Regions from separate parts of the Homo sapiens genome. Here regions 1 and 2 are each linked to region 3. The links are contacts of gene promoters, found by promoter capture Hi-C in human tissues and cell types (Jung and others, 2019). All regions are on one chromosome and are shown on one strand. The core of a region is centred on a gene start or on the middle of the fragment in contact, and the rest is flanking DNA. Distances in the headings are between cores, read along the strand shown.

What was found. The method cuts DNA at HindIII sites, captures the fragments that hold promoters and counts their contacts. A contact is called where the count stands out against the background at its distance.
Region 1: a contact is called between a fragment that was not itself captured here and the fragment with the promoter of MED9 in region 3, in 4 of the 25 tissues and cell types used here (IMR-90 fibroblasts, liver, lymphoblastoid cells and 1 more).
Region 2: a fragment that was not itself captured here is called in contact with the fragment with the promoter of MED9 in region 3 in 1 of the 25 tissues and cell types used here (liver).

Annotation. Positions count from the first base shown.
Region 1 is chr17:17,608,462-17,612,132 of GRCh38, forward strand. No RefSeq gene overlaps it. Among named protein-coding and RNA genes, the nearest start is that of PEMT, 19 kb to the left of the region's middle. The HindIII fragment of the contact is 8,912 bases long and covers 1-3,671 here.
Region 2 is chr17:17,337,764-17,341,579 of GRCh38, forward strand. All of the region lies in intron 3 of NT5M (5',3'-nucleotidase, mitochondrial), which reads left to right. Among named protein-coding and RNA genes, the nearest start is that of NT5M, 36 kb to the left of the region's middle. The HindIII fragment of the contact is 7,733 bases long and covers 1-3,816 here.
Region 3 is chr17:17,475,200-17,479,052 of GRCh38, forward strand. MED9 (mediator complex subunit 9) reads left to right here and starts at 1,801. Exons shown (of 2, transcript NM_018019.3): 1 at 1,801-2,066. The coding sequence starts at 1,843. RefSeq lists an enhancer at 1,805-1,904. The HindIII fragment of the contact is 13,264 bases long and covers 1-3,853 here.

The DNA of each region.
Region 1 (3,671 bases), core at 1,129-3,628, 130 kb after region 3:
GGGTAGAGGCCAAGGAAGCTGCTAAAAGTCTACAATGTGCAGGGGCCGGTCGCGGTGGCTCACGCCTGTAATCCCAGCACTTTGGGTGGCCAAGGCGGGTGGATCACGAGGTCAGGAGATCGAGACCATCCTGGCTAACACAGTGAAACTCCGTCTCTACTGAAAATACAAAAAATTAGCTGGGTGAGGTGGTGGGCGCCTGTAGTCACAGCTACTCGGGAGGCTGAGGCAGGAGAATGACATGAACCTGGGGGGTGGAGCCTGCAGTGAGCTGAGATCACACCACTGTACTCCAGCCTGGGTGACAGAGCAAGACTCCATCTCAAAAAAAAAAAAAAAAAAAAAAAAAAATTCTACAATGTGCAGGACAGCCCTCACAACCAACAATTATCCAACCCAAAATAGAACAGTGCCAAGGCTGAGAAACTGTCCAAATTATAGGTGGAAATATAGTTGTGTGTGTGTGTTTCGGCATTAGAGGGCATTCCCGGGCCTAGGTGGGCTCTGGAGATGGCCCATGCTCAGGTTTTTATGCCGGGAAGGTGCAGGTGCATGGAGGACATTGGCCAGCTGGGCTGTGAGGAGGAGCTGTAGGCAGGTGCTTGCAGAGATGAAGAAGGGAGCCCTCGGTCTGGCTGAATCCCTGGATGGATCATGGGGCCTGTGGGCTCCTCAAGGGGAGGAGACCTGCCCTCCCTTGAATCCAAGCTGGGAGATGGTGGTGCCTCCCAGGAGGGTAAGTGGGCACCTCGCTGCCTTCCACCTCTGAAGGGCCAAGTGGTGCCCAGGATATCCATGTTTTGGCTTCTTCCTGGGCACATGTGGAGACTCCATTTCCCAGGGCCCCTTGCAGGTAGGTGTGGCCACATGACAGGTTCCAGCCAATGGAGTGTGATAGGAAGTAATGTCACCACTCCAGGCCTGGCCATGGAATTCTCGCACCACCCAGGCTCTCTCCTTCCCAGTAGTATCCTAGCTGAGCCAGAGGACGCTGAAGGCCTACAGGGCAGCAGAGCCACAGACGGAAGGAGCCTGGGTGCTTGAGTGACTATGCAGCCTCCCCGGCCTGCCATCCCGTCTGGTTGGACTGTGACATGAAACAGATGTGAAATAGATCTTCATCGTGTAGAGCCGTGGGCCTTCGAGCTTTACTTGTTACAGCAACTAATTTTATTTAACTAATACTGGTGGGTCAGCAGGAACGTCCAAGGTGAAAGACAAAATTCCCCTTCAGTTTTTCAGGGCTGTTTAACTCCTAAGATCCAGGGCTGATCCTTAATTATTCCACCCTCCTCGCCCACCCCATTCTCCATTAGACTCTTGTAGTTTTTGCCAACCTTGGCAAGTGGGGCCTTGAGTAGGCCTTAATTTGATCCTTAAAAGTAAAGGGATTTCTTCCACCCTGAGAGTTGTGTGATAGTTTGTACCAGTTACAAAATTTGTGTTCTTTTTCTTGATGGACTGTGAGCCCCTTGAGGGGAAGGCCTGGGCCTGATTTGCGGATGTCACAAAGGCCCAGTAGTGGGCTGGGTAGGCAGCAATCTTGAGGAACTATTTGTGGAAATCTCTGAGCATGTGATGCCCCTGATTGGCCAGATCATTCTGCCTTTATGGTGTTTGGTATGGTTGTTTTTTTTTTTTGAGACCCGGGTCTCACTCTGTTGCCCAGGCTGGAATACAGTGGTGCAGTCACAGCTCTCTATAGCCTCCACCTCCTAGGCTCAAGCACTTCTCCCAACTCATCTTGGAATACAGTGGTGCAGTCACAGCTCTCTATAGCCTCCACCTCCTAGGCTCAAGCACTTCTCCCAACTCATCTGGGACTACAGGCATGCACCACCATGCACAGCTAATATTCTTATTTTTTTTTATAGAGATGGGAGTCTCGCTATGATGCCCAGGCTGGTCTCGAACTCCCGAGCTCAAGTGATCTGACCTCCCAAAGTGCTGGAATTACAGGCATGAGCCACCGCGCCCTGTCTTCCTTTGTTTGTGTTGATTACGAATACATTCACTTGCAAAAAATAACAAAAAAAACCCCCAGAAAATCCGATCAACAGAGACGTAAACAAATAGGTGTTTCGTTGTGTGTGTGTTTTTTTGTTTTTTTTTGTTTTTCATGGAACACAAGCTCGAAGCAGGCAGTTGCAAGCATGAGGGAACTTGACTTTGCCATCCCTATACTGACCTTTTTATTCTGATGCTTCGGCCTCATAGGCACAAGATGGCTGCCATAGCTCTAATCATCACACTGGGGCTCGAGGCAAGCAAAGGTGAGAGAAATGTCTAGGGCCATGCTAACTGTATCTGTCTCTTCATCAGGGCAGCAAAAGCTTTTCCAGAAATCCCCCCAGCAGACTTCCACTTTAAGAGTGATTGGCCTGAATTGGGTCAAATGTCTAGTACAAGAGGCTAGGAAGTTAAAACAGTCATGATTGGCTTAGAACACTGATTCACAAATGAATCTGTAGGGGTGGGTTGCCCCTCCACACCTGTGGGTGTTTCTCGTAAGGTGGAACGAGAGACTTAGGAAAGAAAAAGACACAGAGACAAAGTGTAGAGAAAGAAATAAGGGGACCCGGGGAACCAGCGTTCAGCATATGGAGGATCCCGCCAGCCTCTGAGTTCCCTTAGTATTTATTGATCATTCGTGGGTGTTTCTCCGAGAGGGGGATGTGTCAGGGTCACAAAACAATAGTGGGGAGAGGGTCAGCAGACAAACACGTGAACAAAGGTCTTTGCATCATAGACAAGGTAAAGGATTAAGTGCTGTGCTTTTAGATGTGCATACACATAAACATCTCAATGCTTTACAAAGCAGTATTGCTGCCCGCAGGTCCCACCTCCAGCCCTAAGGCGGTTTTTCCCTATCTCAGTAGATGGAGCATACAATCGGGTTTTATACCGAGACATTCCATTGCCCAGGGACGGGCAGGAGACAGATGCCTTCCTCTTGTCTCAACTGCAAGAGGCATGCCTTCCTCTTATACTAATCCTCCTCAGCACAGACCCTTGCTGTCGGGCTGGGGGACGGTCAGGTCTTTCTCTTCCCACGAGGCCATATTTCAGACTGTCACATGGGGAGAAACCTTGGACAATACCTGGCTTTCCTAGGCAGAGGTCCCTGCGGCCTTCCGCAGTTTTTGTGTCCCTGGGTACTTGAGATTAGGGAGTGGTGATGACTCTTAAGGAGCATGCTGCCTTCAAGCATTTGTTTAACAAAGCACATCTTGCACCGCCCTTAATCCATTTAACCCTGAGTTTGACACAGCACATGTTTCAGAGAGCACGGGGTTGGGGGTAAGGTCATAGAATCTCAAGGCAGAAGAATTTTTCTTAGTACATAACAAAATGGAGTCTCCCATGTCTACTTCTTTCTACACAGACACAGTAACAATCTGATCTCTCTTGCTTTTCCCCACATGAATCTTTTTTTTTTTTTTAAGCACAAAGGGAATAGGTATTAGGAAAGCAACCAATAGTGTCTGCCTTGATTTCCAGTCCTGTATCTGGGGCTTCTGCCAAAAGTCCTTTCTCCTAGGGCCAAGAGGGCCCAGGCCCGTCTTCTCGAGGCTACCACACCTGGTTTTCCCCATACCTGAGAGTATGTGAGGATAAAACAGCAGAGCATCCAAGGGTCTGTTGCCCACCCTCCCACCTTGCCTGCTGCC
Region 2 (3,816 bases), core at 1,277-3,776, 140 kb before region 3:
CTATAGAGTTGTTTGACTCCTTATGTATTCTGGTTATTAATCCCTTGTCAGATGGATAGTTTGCAAATACTTTCTTCCATTCTGTGGATTGTCTCTTCACTTTGTTGACTGTATCCTTTGCTGTGCAGAAGCTTTTTAACTGGATGTGATCCCATTTGTCCGTGTTTGCTTTGGTTGCCTGTGCTTTTGGGGTACTATTCAAGAAATCTTTGTCCAGACCAATGTCCTGGAGAGTTTCCCCAATGTTTTCTTTTAGTAGTTCTTGTATATGGCAAGAGATAGGGGTCTAGTTTCATTCTTTTGCATATGGATATCCAGTTTTCCAGTGCCATTTATTGAAGAGACTGTCGTTTCCCCAATATATGTTCTTGGCACCTTTGTCAAAAATGAGTTCAAGGTAGATATATGGATTTATCTGTGGGTTCTGTGATCTTTTTTTTTTTTTTTGAGACGGAGTCTTACTCTGTCGCCCAGGCGGGAGTACAATGGCACCATCTCGGCTCACTGCAATGTCCGTCTCCCGGGTTCAAGTGATTCTCCTGCCTCAGCCTCTGGAGTAGCTGGGACTACAGGCATGTGCCACCATGCCCAGCTAATTTTTGTATTTTTAGTAGAGATGGGGTTTCACCACGTTAGCCAGGCTGGTCTTGAACTCCTGACCTCACGCTATCCGCCCGCCTCGGCCTCCCAAAGTGCTGGGATTTCAGGCATGAGCCACTGCGCCTGGCCTGGTTCTGTATTCTTATCCACTGATCTGTGTGTCTGTTTTTATGCCAGTAACATGCCATTTGGACTACTGTAGCTTTGTAGTATCATTTAAAGTCAGATAATGTGATTTTTCCAGTTTTGTTCCTTTTGCTTAGGATAGCTCTGGCTATTCTGGAATTTTTGTGGTTCTATGTAAATGTTAAGGGTTTTTTTTTTTTTTTTTTTTTTGTATTTCTGTGAAGAATGTCATTGGTATTTTTTTTTTTTTTTTTTGAGATGGAGTCTTACTCTGTCACCCAAGCTGGAGTGCAGTGGCGCGATCTCGGCTCACTGCAAGCTCCACCTCCCAGGTTCACACCGTTCTCCTGCCTCAGCCTCCCAAGTAGCTGGGACTACAGGCGCCCGCCACCACGCCCAGCTAATTTTTTGTATTTTTTAGTAGAGACGGGGTTTCACTGTGTTAGCCAGGATGGTCTCGATTTCCTGACCTCGTGATCTGCCTGCCTCGGCCTCCCGAAGTGCTAGGATTACAGGCGTGAGCCACCGCACCTGGCCTGTCATTGGTATTTTAATAGGGATTGCATTAAATCTGTAAATTGCTTTGGGTAGTATGAACATTTTAACTATATTTATTCTTCTAATCCATGGACATGGAATGAGTATCTTTCCACTTTTTGTGTCTTCAATTTATTCTATCAGTGTTTTATAGTTTACAGTGTAGAGCTCTTTCACTTGGGTTAATTCTTAGGTATTTTATTTTATTTGTAGCTATTTTAAATGGGATTCCTTTCTTAATTTTTTTTCAGATTGTTCCTGTTTTTTTCAGGATTGTTCCTGTTTTTTTCAGATTTTGTATCCTGCAACTTTGCTGACTTTATCAGTTCTAGTAGTTTTTTGGTGGAATCTTTAGGTTTTTCCAAATATAAGATCATGTCATCTGCAAACAAGGATAATTTGACTTCTAATCCTTTCTAATTTGGATGCTCTTTCTTTCTTTCTCTTGTCTGATTGCTCTAGCGAGGACTTCCAGTACTATGTTGAATCACAGTGGTGAAAGTAGGCATTCTTGTCATGTTCCCGGTCTTAGAGGAAAGGCTTTCAGTTTTTCCCCATTCAGTATGATACTAGCCATATATAGGTCTGTCATATATGGCTTTTATTATGTTGAGGTATGTTCCTTCCATACCCAGTTTTTTGAGGGTTTTTATCATGAAAGGATATTGAATTTTATCAAATACCTTTTCAGCACCAATTGAAATAATCATATGTTTTTTGTCCTTCATTCTGTTGATATGATATATCACATTAATTGATTTGCATTTGCTGAACTATCCTGGAATCCCTGGGATAAGTCCCACTTGGTCATGCTGGATGATCTTTTTAATGTGTTGTTGAATTCAATTTGCTAATCTTTTGTTGAGGATTTTAGGAATCAATATTTATCAATGATATTGGCCTATAGTTTTCTTTTCTTTTTTTCAATGTGTTTTTGTCTGGTTTTGGTATCACGGTGATACTGGCTTCATAGAATGAGTTTGGAAGTATTCCTTCCTTCTGTATATTTCTGAATAGTTTAAGTAGGATTGGTATTAGTTATTTAAGTGTTTGGTAGAATTCAGCAGTGAAGCTATTGGGTCCCGGCCTTTTCTTTGCTGGGAGACTTTTTATTATGGCTTCAGTTGTTGTTACTTGTTATTGGTCTGTTTGTTTTGAATTTCTTCATGGTTCAATCTTGGTAGATTGCATGTATCTAGGAATTTGTCCATTTCCTCTAGATTTTCTAATGTATTGGCATGTAGTTGCCCATAGTAGCCACCGATGATTGTTTAAATTTCTGTAATATCAGTTGTAGTGTTTCCTTTGTCATCTCTGATTTTATTTATTTGGGTCTTCTCTCTTTTTTTCTTAGTCTGGCTAAAGGTTTGTCATTTTGTTTACCTTTCCAAAAAACCAACTTTTTGTTTCTTTTCACAAAACCAATCTTTTGTATTTTTTTTATTTCATATTCATTTATTTCTGCTCTGATTTTTGTTATTTCTTTTCTTTCCTTTCTTTTCTTTTTTTTTTAATTTTGAGATGGAGCCTTGCTCTGTCGCCCAGGCTGGAGTGCAGTGGCACAATCTCGGCTCACTGCAACCTCTGCCTCCTGGGTTCAAGCGATTCTCCTGCCTTAGCCTCTCGAGTAGCTGGGACTACAGGTAGGTGCCACCATGCCCAGCTTATTTTTGTTTTTTTAGTAGAGATGGGGTTTCACCATGTTGGCCAGGCTGGTCTTGATCTCCTGACCTTGTGATCTGCCCGCCTTGGCCTCTCAAAGTGCTGGGATTACAGTGTGAGCCACCGCGCCCGGCCTGCTCTTGTTTTTCTGTTTCTTTAGGATGCATCATTAAGTTGTTTACTTGAAGTTTTTCTTCTTCTTTTTTTATTTTTTTTAAATTCAGGCCCCCACAGAAGCATTTTCTTCTTTTTTGATGTGGCACTTATAGCTATAAACTTCCCTCTTAGTACTGCTTTTGCTGCATCCCATAGGTTTTGGTATGTTGTACTTCCATTATCATGTGTTTCAATAAATTTTTCAATTTCCTTCATTTCTTCATTGACCCACTTCATTCAGGAGCATGTTGTTTAATGTCTCTGTGTTTGTATAGTTTCCAGAATTCCTCATTATTGATTTCTAGTTTTATTCCAAAAATACATGTGATTTTTTTATATTGACCTTGTATCCTGTTAGTTTGCCAAATTAACAGTTCTAGTTGCTTTATGTAGATGATTTGGGGCTATGAAAGTCTAGTTATAATAATTACATTTATTTAGTACGTCTGTATCAGGCATTACTCAGGTGTCCTCACAGTTTTTTATTTGATCATACCAGCAACACTGTGAGGAAACTGACCTCACAGTGGAAGTCACTGGCTTGCCCAAGGTCCCCAGCTCGTATGTATCAGAACCAGACTTAGGGCCTAATTTTGAGGGTAAGACAAAAAGGTAGAATCCTTTTTCTGAAGACTTTCTGTGTGCCAGGTGCAGTACTGAGACTCTGATGCATAATTTTCCACTAAATCCCCGAAGGCACTCACGAGGTAGATGCTGTCCTTATCCCTGTGTCAC
Region 3 (3,853 bases), core at 551-3,050:
AGACAGTGACTGTAACTCTGTTCCCTGTATCTACTTTTACTCCATGGTAGTTGTGGTAATTACTATTATTATTACTATTACTATATCATCTTTCCCCAGATGACTCCAAGGGTATACAGTCTCTTCAAGCACATCTGGCCTTTTTCTCCTCCATGCTCAACCAGAACTCTTGAACTTTCCCTTAGTTGGAGAGGTCAATGGTTAGAAGGAAGAAAACTCCGCAACCCACTCCCTCCCTTTGCTCTCTCTCTGGGGCACCGTGGGCAGCTCTTGCTGCAGAGAGCTGTGCTGAGGCCCTTTACTACAGAACCTGTACAGCGCACCCTCCAACAGCACTTCCATCTATGGTCCTACTCCCCAAGGATCTGCCTCCGCACAGCCCTCCCAATGTGCCTGAAAATATCAGCATTGATCCTTTCCCTGGCCACCTTGCTCTTAAGGCTCCTGTTCATCATGCTATGTGGATGTGGACCTCCTCGCCTCTCTGTACTGCCCATGATGGTGGATTACAGCAGAATGGGCTCACCAGTTGACAGCTTTCCCCACTCATGTCTTCTACTCACTAGCTAAGCTTGGGGTGGGTGTCCCCATTGCCCGGAAAATTACTACACAGCCCTCATATCAAACTTGTTTTGAGAAGCATAACCATAAACCCATCTTTGGCCTATGATCCTAGGGAGTCCTCATGCCAACAAGACCTTTTGGGGTCAGCCACGCATGTGAAGTTAGAATGCAGTTTAGGCTGTGCCATGAATCTGAACTAAATATGATTTTAGGGGTGAGGAAACTGGGACCTAGGGGCTTGGGGAACTGGCCCGAAGGTATGGAGAGTACCTGACCTTGTCGTTCTTCCAGGATATGATATTTACTCCTGGCACCAATCCCCTCTACCTTGTACTGAAAGCAAGGACAGCCTGCCTGCAACCACACATACAGGTGGCCATCCAGCAGGTGCATACTAAATGTGTGTTGAGTTGAATTATTAGACTCTTTCTAAGCAACCTTGCAGCATTGAAGGGACCGCAATCCCTTTGCCTCTGCGTCCTTAGGGCTAAACTCGAGGTCTCGATGTCTTGCACTGTGGGCTGGGCCGGGTTTGGTGCCTCACCCAGCAGGTAAGTGCTGTCTACGCCTCCCACAGGTCCAGTGGCTCCTCTCCAGACTTGGGTGCACTGGGCCAGGCTGCACCTTACTAATCTCAAGGCTTCCTGTGTTTGTGGCTTTGGGGCCCTCTTCATCGTGTGAATAGGAATAAGAAGATTGTTATTTCTGGCCGGGTGCAGTGGCTCACGCCTGTAATCCCAGCACTTTGGGAGGCCGAGACGGGCGGATCACCTGAGGTGGGGAGTTCGAGACCAGCCTGATCAACATGGAGAAACCCCGTCTCTACTAAAAATATAAAATTAGCCGGGCGTGGTGGTGCATGCCTGTAATCCCAGCTACTAGGGAGGCTGAGGCAGGAGAATCGCTTGAACCCGGGAGGCGGAGGTTGCGGTGAGCCGAGATCGCGCCACTGCACTCCAGCCTGGGCAACAAGAGCGAAATTCCGTCTCAAAAAAAAAAAAAAGATTGTTATTTCTGAAATAAACCCCTATTTCTCACTATTTAATAATTTAGCAATCTTGACTCACAATCCAAATCCAGGCACCCCAGACCCACCCACGGCCCGTTGCCTAGCAACAGCCTCCCCACCCCCGCCTCCGCGCCTTTTCCCGCCGACTGCCCAGTGCGCACGCTCAGAGCCTTCCTCCACACCCCGCCCCTGCAGGGCGCGCGGTGGTGACGTGTAGAGTGCGCGACGCTTTTGGCGACCCGACCTCTGGCTAACCTACCCCCGGAGCCATGGCCTCTGCTGGGGTGGCAGCCGGGCGACAGGCGGAGGATGTATTGCCGCCAACGTCCGACCAGCCGCTGCCTGACACCAAGCCGCTGCCGCCTCCTCAGCCGCCGCCGGTCCCTGCGCCTCAACCGCAGCAGTCGCCGGCGCCACGGCCTCAGTCACCTGCCCGCGCGAGGGAGGAAGAGAACTACTCCTTTTTACCTTTGGTTCACAACATCATCAAATGGTAAGAACCTAGGAGAGGACCAGGCCCCATACTCCCTCCAGCTTCTCCTCTCAGCCGTTTCAGAGCTGCAAGAGGCCTTGGCGCTCTGGGGCACGCCCCCGTTTCACAGATGGGGAAACTCAGACCCAGAGCGGGAAGAGGCCTTTCCCAAGACCACAGAGACATTCCATGAGTTAAGCAAACGATTTGAGCCTCGAGAGGTGCGATATCCTTAAGAATGAAGCCAGCTTAGAGACTAAATGCAGACTCTTGTCCAGCGGCTCAAATGTTCATCCCAGCGATCTTGAGCAAATTAAATCTCTTTAAGCCTCAGTTTTCTCACCTTTAATGTTGGTAATACTCACTTTAGTTCCTTAGTTCAGCAAACTCAACAGATAAGCATCATCTTCCCTGTGCCAAGTGCTACGGGATGGACGCAGTAAAAGGGGCCAACTTTTCACCCCCAAAGGTTTAGATAGAAGGAAAAAAAGACATGATTGGGAATAACCCACAATTCAAAAAGATTGAGACGGGAGTGGTGGCGATGGGAAACATTAGACTAAGCAGAAACACAGAAGTTGCCTCAGATGATTAGACCCACTTGTACTGACTTTGTTCTAACAGTACCAAAGGAAATAATTGTTGTCATCCTTTTGGCCAGCCTTCAGGGTAGCCTGAGTTTTCAAAGTGACTCTGTAGAGGAAAAACCAAAAACAAAAACACAAAAGTCTCACTGATCCTTATGTTTGCCTAAATTATTATTTTTTTTGAGAGAGGGTCTCGCTCTGTCACCCAGACTGGAGTACAGTGGCGTGATCTCGGCTCACTGCAGCCTCAACCTCCTGGCCTCAAGCCATCCTCCCACCTCATCCTCCCAAGTAACCGGAACCACAGGCATGAGCCATGGCACCCAGCGAATTTTTGTATTTTTTGTAGAGATGGAGTTTCACCATGTTGCCCAGGCTGTAAATTATTTTCATTATGTTACTTCACTGTATATCCACGTGATACTAGGTGTAAACCCCTAGGCTTGTAACTCTTACTCAACCATTAAAGACCAAAACAAAGTAAATTAAAAGAAAATTACGATTCCAGTAACATTCAGGTGAACATGAATGTGCTCTTCACTGTTTTACTGAAATGGAATTGTTACAACGTGAAGGTCTTGACTGTTAGTGGCCCACCCACTTTTGAGTTTAAGCAAATTAGATTCACTTGCTGTGGGATGACCTGATGCTCTTCTGCCACTTTTCAAATAACTACAAAGGCTTTGTTCTCACATTAGACCCTGGCTTCATTTGGTTTCACTTGGTGTTTAAATACTGTTTATAGGGGCCAGGCATGGTGTCTCATGCCTGTAATCCCAGCACTTTGGGAGGCCAAGGCGGGCGGATCACGAGGTCAGAGTTTGAGACCAGCCTCGTCGACATGGCAAAACCCCATCTCTACTAAAAACACAAAAATTAGCCGGGTGTGGTGGCGGCTGCCTGTAATCCCAGCTACTCAGGAGGCTGAGGCAGGAGAATCACTTGAACCCGGGAGGTGGAGGTTGCAGTGAGCCGAGATCATGCCATTGCACTCCAGCCTGGGCAACAAGAGCAAGACTCTGCCTCAAAAAAAAAAAAAAAGTAATGCTTATAGGATAAGGCAGCCTATTCAGTTTTCGTGAGCCTGTGATAATGATCATAGACAGAAATACATATGGAGCCCCTGTAATCCTAGGGCAGTGCTGGATTATAAAGGGTTTATTCTGATTAACCCTAGTTTACTGGTTTTAAGAAAAATGTGGAAAAATGAAAACACAAAAT